Linked DNA regions of Homo sapiens: region 2 is linked to region 1. Evidence: promoter capture Hi-C in human tissues and cell types (Jung and others, 2019). All regions are on one chromosome and are shown on one strand. The core of a region is centred on a gene start or on the middle of the fragment in contact, and the rest is flanking DNA. Distances in the headings are between cores, read along the strand shown.

The links. Contacts are between HindIII fragments. The study calls those that stand out against the background at their distance.
Region 2: a fragment that was not itself captured here is called in contact with the fragment with the promoter of VPS4B in region 1 in 1 of the 25 tissues and cell types used here (dorsolateral prefrontal cortex).

The regions. Positions count from the first base shown.
Region 1 is chr18:63,421,021-63,427,673 of GRCh38, reverse strand. It overlaps VPS4B (vacuolar protein sorting 4 homolog B), which reads left to right and starts at 5,198. Exons shown (of 11, transcript NM_004869.4): 1 at 5,198-5,441. The coding sequence starts at 5,415. RefSeq lists enhancers at 1-557, 5,031-5,330. The HindIII fragment of the contact is 11,812 bases long and covers 1-6,653 here.
Region 2 is chr18:62,850,735-62,857,319 of GRCh38, reverse strand. The region is part of intron 3 of PHLPP1 (PH domain and leucine rich repeat protein phosphatase 1); the gene reads right to left. Among named protein-coding and RNA genes, the nearest start is that of PHLPP1, 140 kb to the right of the region's middle. The HindIII fragment of the contact is 4,110 bases long and covers 1,708-5,817 here.

The sequences.
Region 1 (6,653 bases), core at 3,949-6,448:
GGAATGTAACCTGATGGGCTCAACCAGCTTCCTGCCTGACAACTGCCTGAGTCACTTTCATGGGACTCATATGTTTCGGGTCAGGGAGGAAGCTGAAAACTCAACAAGTAGAGACTTGACTTCTGGGTGCACATGAGGGGACGACCTTAATATTAATATTATGCATGTCCTTTAACATGGTCTGAGTGAAATGAATTCAGTCCTGGGTGGTCTGCATGTGAGATCCTATCGAAGGCTGAATACACAAACACCACCTGCCACCCCACTGACCTTCCTAGTTTCTGAAGTCCTTGATCACAGCAGGGAAACTCCATTTTGTTCAACAAACCTTAGCTATTTAAGAACACACCCTCTTTGTACTTGTAGGTGGTAAGGCAGGGGGAGTAGGTTGTAAATGGAATAAAATGAAGTCTTAGCCCTTGGGGATTTTATCATCGAGAAAAGTAGAACACTGTGCTAGTAAGATCAACAATTTTTGAGCATCTGCTCTGCACCAGGCACTGTGTTAGGCACTTGGCATGTGTGATTTAAGGGCAATTCAAGGTCCAAAGTGTGATGAGAGCTCAGAGAGATTTCAGAAGTTTCCTGAAGAAGTGACATTGGAACTGACACTTGAGGAATAGTATGATTTTAACAGGTTGAATTGGTGAAAGCAATGGAAGGAGCCAGGATTTTTTTTTTTTTCTCGAGATGGAGTTCTCCTCTTGTTGCCCAGGCTGGAGTTCAATGGCATGATCTCAGGTCATTGCAACCTCCCCCTCCCTTGTTCAAGCCATTCTCCTGCCTCAGCCTCCCGAATAGCTGGGATTACCGGCCCCCGCCACCATGCCCGGCTAATTTTTGTATTTTTAGTAGAGACAGGGTTTCACCATGTTGGCCAGACTGGTCTCAAACTCCTGACCTCAGGCGATCCACCCACCTTGGGCTCCCAAAGTGCCGAGATTACAGGTGTGAGCCACACCAGGCCAGAAGCAAGAATCTATTCTTCAAAGCCCAAGAGGCAAGGAACGGGGGCTGCACTGCAGGAACTGGGAATATCCCTTTTGGCTCTGCATCCCTTGTTTTCTAAAATGAAACACTTGCAGGAACCTCCCATTTGATCTTACTGCCTCCTCTCTCTTTCTGGTGTATCCTAAAAGGACTGTCAGATCCACCTTCATGAAACCAACATCTGACCAAATCACAACTCTACCAAGAAGGAAGACAGGAAGACAGAAAAGCAGGAGGTAGTGACAGAATGAAGAGGGAAGCTTTCAACATTATCTTACAGAATAATGTCCAAACTCCTTATTCCAAGCCTCTAACTGGCAGTGCCAGTTGGTGTATTTTTAGCTTCATCTCCTGCCACTCCAACCCCACAGTGCCTCTGCTTCCTACATTCCAGGGATCCCTCAGAGCAGGTACTTTATTCTTCCGCGCCTTTATTTCTGCTTTTCCTTCTGCCTGAAATGGCCTGCACTCCGTCAAAATCAGATTAAGATTTTAAACTTCAGTTTAAGTGAACTTTCCCTAAGACATCCCTAACCACTCATTCAAAATTAAGCCTTCTCTCTCCTGTGGTCCCACAGGACTTCCTGCCTCTATCCTAGCACTTGTCACCCTGGAGTCAGAAGACCTGGGTCAAACTCCAGCTCTGCCATATAAAAGCTGAATGAATTGGGGGGGATTTCTACTGATACCTCTGAGGCTGTTTCCCTTTTTCTTCTTCTTCTTCTTTTTTTTTTTTTTTTTTTTTTTGAGATGGAGTCTTGCTCTGTTGCCAGGCTGGAGTGCAGTGGCACGATCTTGGCTCACTGCAACCTCTGCCTCCTGAGTTGAAGTGATTCTCATGCCTCAGCCTCCCGAGTAGTTGGGATTATTGGCATGTGCCACCACACCCAGCTAGTTTTTGTATTTTTAGTAGAGATGGCATTTCACCATATTGGCCAGGATGGTCTCAATCTCCTGACCTCATGATCTGCCAGTCTCGGCCTTCCAAAATGCTGGAATTACAGGTGTGAGCCACCGCGCCTGGCCTGTTTCCTCTTTTGTAAAAATGGGATACTTAAGATTTACCTTGTCGTATACAATAAGATAATGTATGCAAAACTCTTACACATGTAACATATTTACATTTTAAATATGTAAACGGTTAAAAGTTTCTACTCCACTAAAATGTAAGGTCCCAGGGAATAGGAATTTTAAAATGAAAAATTTTCCTTTTAAAATAATACTTACAGGCTGGGTGTGGTGGTTCCCGCCTGTAATCCCAGCACATCGGGTGGCTGAGGCAGGCAGATCACTTGAGGACAGGAGTTCGAGACCAGCCTGGACAAAATGGCAAAACCCCATCTCTACAAAAACACAAAAAATTTGCCAAGCATGGTGGCACACGCCTGTCATCCTAGCTACTCGGGAGGCTGAGGCAGGAGAATTGTTATGGGAGGTGGAGGATGCAGTGAGCCGAGATTGTGCCACTGCTCTCCAGCCTGGGTGACAGAGCGAGACTTTGTCTCAAAAAAAATAAAAATAAATACACAAATAAAAATTAAAAATAAACTCTTACAGAATAGTTGCAAAGGTATACAGAGAATTCCCATATATTCTTCACCCAATTTCCCCTACTGTTAACATCTTAAATAACCATGGTACATTTATCAACAATAAGAAATTAACATTGATAAAATACTATTAGCTAAACTGCAGACTTTATTCTCATTCTTACAACAGTTTTTCAACTCATGGCCCTTTTCTGTTTCAGGATCCAATCCAGAATCCCATACTGCATTTAGTTGTCATCTTCTTAGTCTCTACAATCTGTGACAGTTCCTCAGTCTTTCCTTGTCTTTTATGATCTTGACATTTTTGAGGAGCACTGGTTATTTTGTAGAAGTAGAAAAACCCTCCATATGAATTTTTCTGATGTTTTCTCATGATTAGATTGAGGTTACAGGTTTGGGAAGCATACCACAGAGCTAATGTGCCCTTCTCCACATCAGGGGTTCCATCATAACAACATGGCTTATTACTGGTGATAAAAGAGGGGTTTTTTGTTTGTTTGTTTGTTTTTACCGATTCTCACTCTGTTGCCCAGGCTGAAGTGCGGTGGTGTGATCTTGGCTCACTGCAATCTCTGCCTCCTGGGTTCTAGTGATTCTCCTGCTTCACCCTCCCAAGTAGCTGGAGTTACATGCAGGCACCATCACGCCTGGCTAATTTTTGTTTGTTTGTTTTGAGACAGAGTTTCGCTCTGTAGCCCAGGCTGGAGTGCTGTGGTGCGATCTCAGCTCACCACAACCTCTGCCTCCTAGGTCCCGGTTCAAGAAATTCTCCTGCCTCAGCCTCCCGAGTAGCTGGGATTACAGGAACGCACCACCATGCCCAGCTAATTTTTGTATTTTTAGTAGAGACAGGGTTTCACCATGTTGGCCAGGCGGGTCTTGAACTGCTGACCTCAGGTGATCGCCCGCCTTGGCCTCCCAAAGTGCTGGGATTACAGGCGTGACTCACCACACCCGGCCTAATTTTTGTATTTTTAGTAGAGATGGAGTTTCACCATGTTGGCCAGGCTGGTCTCGAACTCCTGACCTCAAGTGATCCACCCACCTCGGCCTCCCAAAGTGCTGGGATTACAGGCGTGAGTCACCACGCCCGGCCCATCTTTGCTTAAATTATAAACTCAGTTTCTCCCACAGTTAGTTCAGCCTATGCTCAGGAATGTACAAGGACAGCTTGGAGGTTAAAAGTAAGATGGAGTTGGTTAAGTTAGATCTCTTTCACTGTCTCAGTCATCATTTTGCGAAGGCAAATTCACAAGTGGGAAGAAAGGACGGGTAGATGCAGGGCAGAGAGAGGGCTCTGTGCTTCGAGCCTGGATGATACAGATTTGGCAATACTATTCTAAGGAGAGACCAGAGAAAGAAGTTTAGGGTAGAAGGTAATTAATTAGAGTATGTTGAATTTGTCTTGCAGAAAAACCCTGTGAAGGAAACCTCTGGGAGGCTGTTGTAAATGCTGGGCTGGGGATGGGGTGGGTCTAGAGATCCAGATTTGAAGCAATTTCTAGTCTATTGATAGCTGAAGCTCAAGAAGAGAGTTAGATGAGCAGAGGTGAAGAGAGAAGAGGACATCAGACTCTTGAGTAAATTCAGCTTAAGCTCAGGGAGGAGTAAGAAAGGGAGACAGTGAAGGAAGCAGATAAGGAATATTGGGAAGCTGGACAAACAAGAACTGGGTAGTTGACAATACCAATGAAGAGGGAAGAGGAGAGGACTTTAATTCTTTCGGAGATGCCAGATGAGAAAAAATTAAGAAATGAGTGAGAAAAAAATGATGGAGTGATTAAACATCTATGTTGCTTTCCTTTGAGAATGTTAACTATGAAAAGAAGAAAAGGGTGGTGGTGGCTGCAAACCATAGGAAGGCTGAGAAAGGGTTTTACTTTGGTTCTGCCTCTAATCCCTGACGCATTCAACCTCCTCAAGCCATTTGCTTGTAAACATAACTGGCATAAATAATATCTGATATGCCCATTTTACAGGACAAGTGCTTCCCTCTCAGACCACATACTCGAGGACAGCGGCCGTCCACGCCTTATTTACATTCATCTTCCCAACACAACAGTCATTTGGAAGATGCCGAGTGGCGTGGGAAGAACAAGCGGGAACGAGCGCCGACCCGCCCGCGGCCTGACTGCTAGCGCACCGCTGTGCGGCCGCCTCACCGCGCACTCCCTCCTGAATTATTCACCACCGAGACGAGGACGGTGATCGCCCCCATTCCACAGAGGACACGGAGTGAAGGCGCAGTCACAGGCCCAAAGCCCCCAGTCGGCGGGTCTTGGAAATGGACGACTTTTTCACTCAAAAGCTACGAGGCAACAAAGCATGTGGATGAGGAGGGAAGGGAGCCGGGGCCAATAATTCATCTCAAAGTAAAAGACGTCCCCGGGGGTGGGGAACAAACAAACAACAAAACCCGGCTCTGTGCTTCCGCGCTTGCGCTCTCCTAGGTCTGCCAGGCTGCCGCCCGCGCCTAGGCCAGAGTCTCAGTGCGCCTGCGCCGAGCCCGACTTCCGCCAGGGCTCGATTGGCTTCCAGGCTACTTCTCCCGGCCCAGGGAGGGCCTGCGCTGTGGCTAGAGAAGGGAGTCTGGTGACTGGGTGCGCGTGCTGATGACGAAATCGGAAGTGCCCGGAGCAGAGGCGGGACCAGAACCTAGAGGGCCTCGGGATTGCGGAAGTTTGGTGGGGAGGGTCGGAGCTCTGGTGGAGAGAGTGTTGTCTAAAACAAGTTCCGGAAGGGAGGCTGCCCTTCGCGGTCCGAGAACCACCGGCCTCCCCAGTTTGAGGGCTGTTACCCCGTGCGCGCTTCGACGTTGCTGCTGTTGGCTCTCCTCGCCCCTCGTTCCCTTGGGAACCGCCTGGGAACTCCGCCATGTCATCCACTTCGCCCAACCTCCAGGTATCATTGCTCATCTCCCGTCCCCCTAGGGAGCTGGGATCGAGGGGAGGCGCGAGAAGCGGGTGGGGGGCGGGGAGAAGGGAGGAAGCGGCCGCGCCTGTGGTCGAGGCGCAGGAGGGCGGGTCCGGGGACCTGCAGCAGGTGGGAGAGGGGCCCGTTTTCCAACGGAAAGGTCGTTTCTGGCCCGCTCTTGGGGTCTCCCGAGCTACTGGCTTTGTGAGACTCTTCACTTTTGTTGACACTTCCCGCTTCCAAACCAGCCAAGATCTGGGCAGGTTTCTCCAATCAGGGTTAACGGAGAAAGAAAGAACGTAATTTTTGCAAAGCCCTATTCTGGACCAGTTGAAGATAGGGTGGTCATAGTTCGGTCTTAGTTTCTCAAGCTGACAGCAGACCCCTTCATTCTGAGCTGTCAGGTGAGTAGAGATATGGGAACAGACCAAGAATCTGAGATTACAGCCAGCCTGCATGCAATCTCCGTGAAGTCATTGAATTTATGTGCACACTCCTGTGGCTCCCAGATGGTAGTGTGTAAGATCGAGGAGTATTCTTAAACCTCTGTGTGGCTCCACTTCCCCTCCTCTACCGCAATGAGCACAGTGTTTTGTACACAAATCATGGAATCTTAAGATTTTAGGCTTAATCGTTAGTCCTCTGTGGAATGGAATTCGTTCAGAAAAGAAATTTCTTAATGTAATGGTGTCTCCCATCCCCAGAATGGATCTAGGGCTTCAGTGGCGTTTAGAATGTAATGTGGCTTAATGTAGAGGACTCCCAGTCCAGTAAGTCAATAAGGCACAAAAGAGTAGCCTAAAATACTTGTATTGAGTCCCCGTCGTGGACTTCCGGTAGTTTGTTGAACAAGCAGTTATTGGAGTGCCTGACAGAGGCATCAAAGGTAATGGAAGAACTCCTTAACCCATGATAATTGATTCTGAAGAAAGACCACTCAAAGTAGACCCACTTAAACAGAGATTAAAATTTCACACACACATACACAAAAAGAGTGGGAAAGGAGGCTTGCTTGGGACTTTCATCTTGAAAATCGACCTAGAAGATTATTAAAATAATTGTTATCTTTCACAAAATATTATAATTGTATAATTGCAACAATGACTCATTTTGTGGAATAAGTCAAGTGTTGATTTGTCTGTGTTTTTTTCCTTTTCTTTTCTTTCTTTTTTTTTTTTTTTTTGAGACGGAGTCTTGCAC
Region 2 (6,585 bases), core at 2,513-5,012, 570 kb after region 1:
CAGCATGACACATTCCATTTATGAAAACAATTTTTAATACAATACACACACACCTCCATATATTAGATGGATGAATAGTTATATGTGCAATATATACCGTGAGATCATAAATTTCTATTGTTTTAAGCCACCAAGGGTTTGCTAATATGTTACAGCAGCCACAGGAAACTAATGCAACCCTTCTTTATTTTTTCCATTGTACTTTTTTTCATTTTCATTCATTCAACATGTTTACTGAATATCTACTAGAGGTGCCAATTACCGTTCTAGGTGAGCCCTTAATATACTTCAGAAAACAAAATGAAGATCCCTCCCCTATTAAGCTTTCTTTACAAATAAATAAATTATATGTTAAAAAAATTGGTAAGCACTACAGAGAAAAAAAAAACAGCTTGAGAAAGGGGGTCAAGACTGCTGGGAAGGTGGTGGATTGTAATTTAAATAGGTTGGTGAGAGTGGTGCCCACTGAAAAGACCACATTTAGAAAGGAAAAACCGGAGAAGTTGGCAGATAGGATTTATCTGGAAGAAGATGCTGCCAGGCAGAGGAAGTACCCAGAGTTAGGACCCTTAGAGAAGCATGCCTTAGCTAGGCATGGTGGCTCATGCCTGTAATCCCAGCACTTTGGGAGGCTGGGGTGGGAGGACTGTTTGAGCCCAGAAGTTCGAGATCAGCCTGGGCAACATAGTGAGACCACCAACTCTACTAATAAAAAAATTTTTTAATTAGCTGGGCGTGGTGGTGCGTGCCTATAGTTCCAGCTACTCGGGAGGCTGAGGTGGACGGACCACTTGAGCCCAGAAGGTCGAGGTTGCAGTGAGCTTTGATCACACCACTGCACTCCAGCCTGGGCAATACAGCCAGACCCTGTCTCAAATTTGTAAAAGGAGCACACTTGGCATGTCCGAGGGACTTGAGAACACTGATAATAAGGAGACAGTGACTGGCAATGAGGTCAGAAGGTAAGGGGGCAGGGGATATGGGGTAAGCAGCAGATCCTGTGGGACCCTCAGGCCTTGTAAGGACTCTGGCTTTTAAGGTGAGTGAAATGGGATGTGTGGAAAGGTTCTGAGAAGTGTGAGGTGATCACCAACATATGGTCGGCGCTCCATATCCACTGGGGATTAGCTCCTGGACCCCAGCAGGTATCAAAATCCACGGATGCTCAAGTCCCTGACATAAAATGCCATAGTACACTCAGCCCTCCGTGTTGGCAGGTTTTGATCCCCGGTTAGTTGAATCTGAAAATGGGAAACTCGCAGTAAGAAGGGCCTACTGTACCATGGAATTTTCTTATTTTTTCTCTATCTTTGTCTCTAGATTGTAAGCTCCATAAAGGAAAGGATTTTTCTATTTTGTTCACTGATATAACCCCACGTTGAGTACTTGGGAGGACCCTCAAAACATCTTGCTGGAAGAATGGCCAGAAGACGACCTTATACCTCCTCCTTTCTCACCAGGCGGCCTCTGCATCTAGTGCATCCTTTCATTTGGCAACCACTTTGAAGAAGACAAATTCCATTTCAAATGAAGCATCCCACTAAATACTCCCTTTGGACAACTAAGAGAAAATGATTTAACATCAAGTTGTATTGGCTTCCTTTCCTCCTTCTAGACCGTAAGCTGTTTCTGCTGGAAACAAGGAGGAGGAAACCACATTAACGAGGCTACAAGCAAGGGCAGTCCTGTGTGAGCTATGTAGAACTAGGAATGTCTATCGTGAGAACATAAATTCAACATGTTAATATGGCCACTAGGCAGTGAGCTGCATAGGTGACCACAAAAGCTACCACTAGCTACACCACTGCCCAGTCCCATAAGCTGCAACAGAATGGGAGATTTAAGTGCTTCTACTCAGAGCAACCTGGGCACATCAGGGCTCTATCACAAAGAGTTAAGAACCAGGAAAGCACTCTACTTAGAAGGTATGGCTTGATTCCCAAATGAGAAAACTACCAGCTGGGCTATCCAAAGAAACTGTGACCCACCTACACAGCAGCTATTAAAACTGAGATCCTGCCTGAAATAAGAAAGACCTACATACATAAAAAAAATTAATCAAAAAACCACATGTGCACACCTCAGAGCAAGTAGGCTTTATTATTCTAGCGTTTTCCTTTTCCAAGTAACAATAATAATAGTTAACATTTAAGTAGTGCCTTCTTTGTGATAGGCACTCTTCCAAGAGCTTAAGATACAATATTTAGCTTAATCTTCCCAATACCCTGTGCAGTAAGAACTTACCCCTGTTTCAAAGATAAAGATTAAACTGAGTCACAGAGTGTGCGCCCAAGGCCATTTAGTTTAAAAAGCAGCAGGATCAGGCTGGGTGTAGGGGCTCATGCCTGTAATCCCAACACTATGGGAGGCCGAGGTGGGTGGATCATTTGAGGTCAGGAGTTTGAGACCAGCCTGGCCAACATGGTGAAACCCCTTCTCTACTAAAAATACAAAAATTAACCAGGCGTGGTGGTGGGTGCCTGTAATTCCAGTTACTCAGGAGGCTGAGGCAGGAGAATCACTTGAACCTGGGAGGCGGAGATTGCAGTGAACCAAGATTGAGCCATCACACTCCACCCTGGGTGACAAGAGCGAAACTTCATCTCAAAAAAAAAAAAAAAAAAAAGTAGCAGGATCAGAGTTTGAACAAGAGCCAGTACTATTAACTCTATGCCATCAGGTCAAGACCTGGATCTCATCAGAAGGGAGGCTCCTCTAATCTCCATCATAAAATAACATAACTACAGCAAAGAAAATTAGATGTACTCCTCAGGATATGTTTAAGCCTTAGAAATGAAGACAAGGTGGTCAGAGACAGTGAGTCCTCCTCGGGAGAAGCAGTAGAGACCATCTGCTGACCAAATACAGATTTCCGAGGAGGGGTGAATCCCCATGGGGCATTATTCCTTGACATCATAGGCTCTGCCCACTCCAATCCCACACAACTTATCCAGCTGGGCAACAGTGATGCCATCCAGTGAGCACCTAATCAAAATTTTAAAGGTTACAGGAAAAGTATAAGAGGTTATAGATATTTGGGAAGTGAAACAGGCATATATAGAAAGTGCCTCAAATCTCTGTTACAGAAAGCTTCTAAAGGATCTCAGAATATAAATTCCTTTTGGCAAAAGCTACTGTACTTATAACCACAGACAAGATAGTTGAAGGCACAAAGGTGAGGTCCACACAACTTGACATACAGGAGAAAGGGCACCAGCTTAACAGTATGTGGGGTAGGTAGGAACAGTTCTACTTACTAGCAACGTGACTTTGAATAAGTCACTTCGCTTACCTGTCCTTCAAGTTTCCGTATCTCTAAAATAGACTAAGTCCTGTCTTATAGACTAATAGACCTGCCCTGATCACCTTAACAAGTTGCTGCAGTAATACCATTTTATTCATTTTAAAAAATCAGGAGAGGCTCTGTAGACCAAGTATCTCCACAGCAATGTCTACCACTCCAAGCAATAAAAGTCTATAAAACAAAAAAGACTACGATGTAAGCCAATGCTCTCGTCGTTGAGCAGTTATAAGGATAAACTGCAATTAGCCAGACCATCAATGAACTATAGACGAAGAGATTCAAGTTGTGATCAGTTGAAGGTAACTGTGCCATAGAAAGTCAGTTTTAGTCTGTATTAACAATAACAGGCTGGGGGCAGAGGCTCACGCCTGTAATCCCAGCACTTTGTGGGGCCGAGGGGGGCAGATCACCTGAGGTCAGGAGTTCGAGACCAGCCTGGCCAACATGGGGAAACTCCATCTCTACTGAAAATACAAAAATTAGCTGGGTGGGGTGGCGGGCACCTGTAATCCCAGCTACTCAGGAGGCTGAGGTAGGAGAATCGCTTGAACCCGAGAGGCAGAGGTTGCAGGGAGCCAAGATTGCGCCACTGCACTCCAGCCTGGGCAACAACAGCAAGACTCCATCTCAAAAACAAAACGAAACAAGAACAAAAAAAAAAAAGAAAAAAGAAAAAAAATTAAGGCTAATTGAGTTAGTAAATTAAATGGGACTTTTCTACCACGATGGACACACCCTGAGAGATACATCAAAATGAACATAATTTCCAACTACCTGCTCAGGTGGTCTCTTTTTTTCCCAAATGACTTGTAAATATACATAAGGGAAGGAGGGTTCATTTGGTCCTCAAAATATTTCCTCTAAAGAACACTGCACTATAAAAAATGCTAATGTGAACAACAAAATTTTCAGATGACTCAATGGGTGGCCACACATTTCTAACATATAACTCAGCTTGACACTTTCCTAAGTCATTTCTTTGCCTATTATTAGGACCCTTATGACAAAAACGTCCCTCCTCTGAGTGTAGCTGGGTTGCATTTGTAAACCAATCTATCTGTCCTATCCTTACCCTATCCCTGCCACGCTTTCAAAATTCTCATCTTCCCTTGCAAGAGGACAGTACTCTGCATCATTCCCATTACTCTTCTTGGTTCAGTTAGTGGATAATCGTCTTTCACAGGCAAGGGAAAGTTCACAGTAACATTAATGTGATGATTTTGCCCCCTCTATACTTTAGTAAAGTTGTATTTATCCTTCTTATGTGCATGGCATGCTCAAAATTAACCAGAATGACTCTAAAAGGCTTGGTCAAAGCAGCTGAAATACCACAAATAATTCTGCTTGTGTGAAGTGAAACACTGCTGTCAACCTGCCGGGCATGGTGGCTCACGCCTGTAATCCCAGCACTTTGGAAGGCCGAGGCGGGCGGATCATGATGTCAGGAGATCGAGACCATCCTGGCTAACACAGTGAAACCCCGTCTCTACTAAAAATACAAAAAATTAGCCGGGCGTGGCGGCAGGCGCCTGTAGTCCCAGCTACTCGGGAGGCTGAGGCAGGAGAATGGCATGAACCCAGGAGGCGGAGCTCGCAGTGAGCCGAGATTGGGCCACTGCACTCCAGCCAGGGTGACACAGTGAGACTCCATCTCAAAAAATAAATAAATAAATAAAAATTAATTACATCATATATCTTCATAATGTTCCAATAAAAGCATATCAAAGCTACCAGTTTTATACTTATGAAATTCTACCTGGAATTTCAGAATCTCACCATTTCTTTTTCTTAAATGGTTAAATGAGATGGAAAAAGATATATAAGCAATAAAATAAGGGCCAGGCACAGTGACTCATGCCTGTAATTTCTACACTTTGGGAGGCTGAGGCGGGAGGACCACTTGAGTCCAGGAGATTGAGGCCAGCCCAGACAACACAGCAAGACCCCATCTCTACAAAATTAAATTAAAAAATTGGCCAGGTGTGGTGGCACGTGCCTATAGTCCTAGCTACATGGGAGGCTGAGGTGGGAGGAATCCTTGAGCCCAGAAGCTTGAGGCTGCAGTGAACTATGATTGTGCCACTGCCCTCCAGCATGGGTGACAGAGGGAGATCTTGTCTCAAAAAAAAAAGAAAAGAAAAAAGATTACGCAAATTATACAACATTTAAAATGATTCGAGGTAATGACATAGCAAATCAATGAATACAACAGGAAAATCCAGACAGGCTATCATCAATAGGTTAAAAATGAGAGATGGGCTGGGCACAGTGGCTCACGCCTGTAATCCTAGCACTTTGGGAGGCCGAGGCAGGCAGATCATGAGGTCAGGAGTTTGAGACCAGTCTGACCAACATAATGAAACCCTGTCTCCACTAGAAATACAAATATTAGCCGGGTGTGGTGGCGCACACCTGTAATCCCAGCTACTCAGGAGACTGAGGCAAGAGAATCTCTTGAATCCGGGAGGCGGAGGTTGCAGTGAGCCAAGATCGCACCACTGCACTCCAGCCTAGGCGACAGAGCAAGACTCCATCTCAAAAATAAATAAATAAATATGAGAGATGGTATTCTGTTGAGGGCAAGAGCATGTGGGAGAGGTAGGATCTATGATTTTAAAATGATAGGCTATGAGGTACCTGTTAAAATATAGTTAAAAGACCCAAAAATAAGAGTATGGAAACAACTGCAGGCTGGGGAAGAAAACAAAACAAAACAAAATCCCTGGCTCACTGTTCAAGGACCAAGCTATAACAATATTTAAAAAGCCAATCAAGAGAACTCCAGACCAAGAGATCCTCCAAGGTATCCTCAGCTCTCTTTGCCAGCAGAGGTGAGGGGATGGGGATGAGGAGGCAGCATGCGCGGGGCCATCAAGCTAACCTGAATGAATCATTCAATAAACATTTGTTATTTGCCTTTTATGAACCAGGAACTATACCAGGTACTGGAGAGATGCAGTCTTTGTCTCCAAAAGCTTAGCCTCTTGAGGACACACACATCTAAATAACTGTAATTCACTAAAGAGGATGCAGCAGTGCCATAAGAGCACACACAGGGCCAAGAACAATCCTCAGAGCTCCACGTCGACAGCATCAGTGCCGACACAGTCCCCTCCCTTGACAAAATGAGCCACGTATTCACAGGCACTTCTGCTGCATTTGTCCAGTGAGCTCATCATGCGGCCAAAAGTGAAAATGTGGACTCTTTAGGAGTCAGATGCAACAGTATAGGGTCAGAGGAGATGTCACTAACAGCTTTCCAAAATCATGAGCCACCAGTG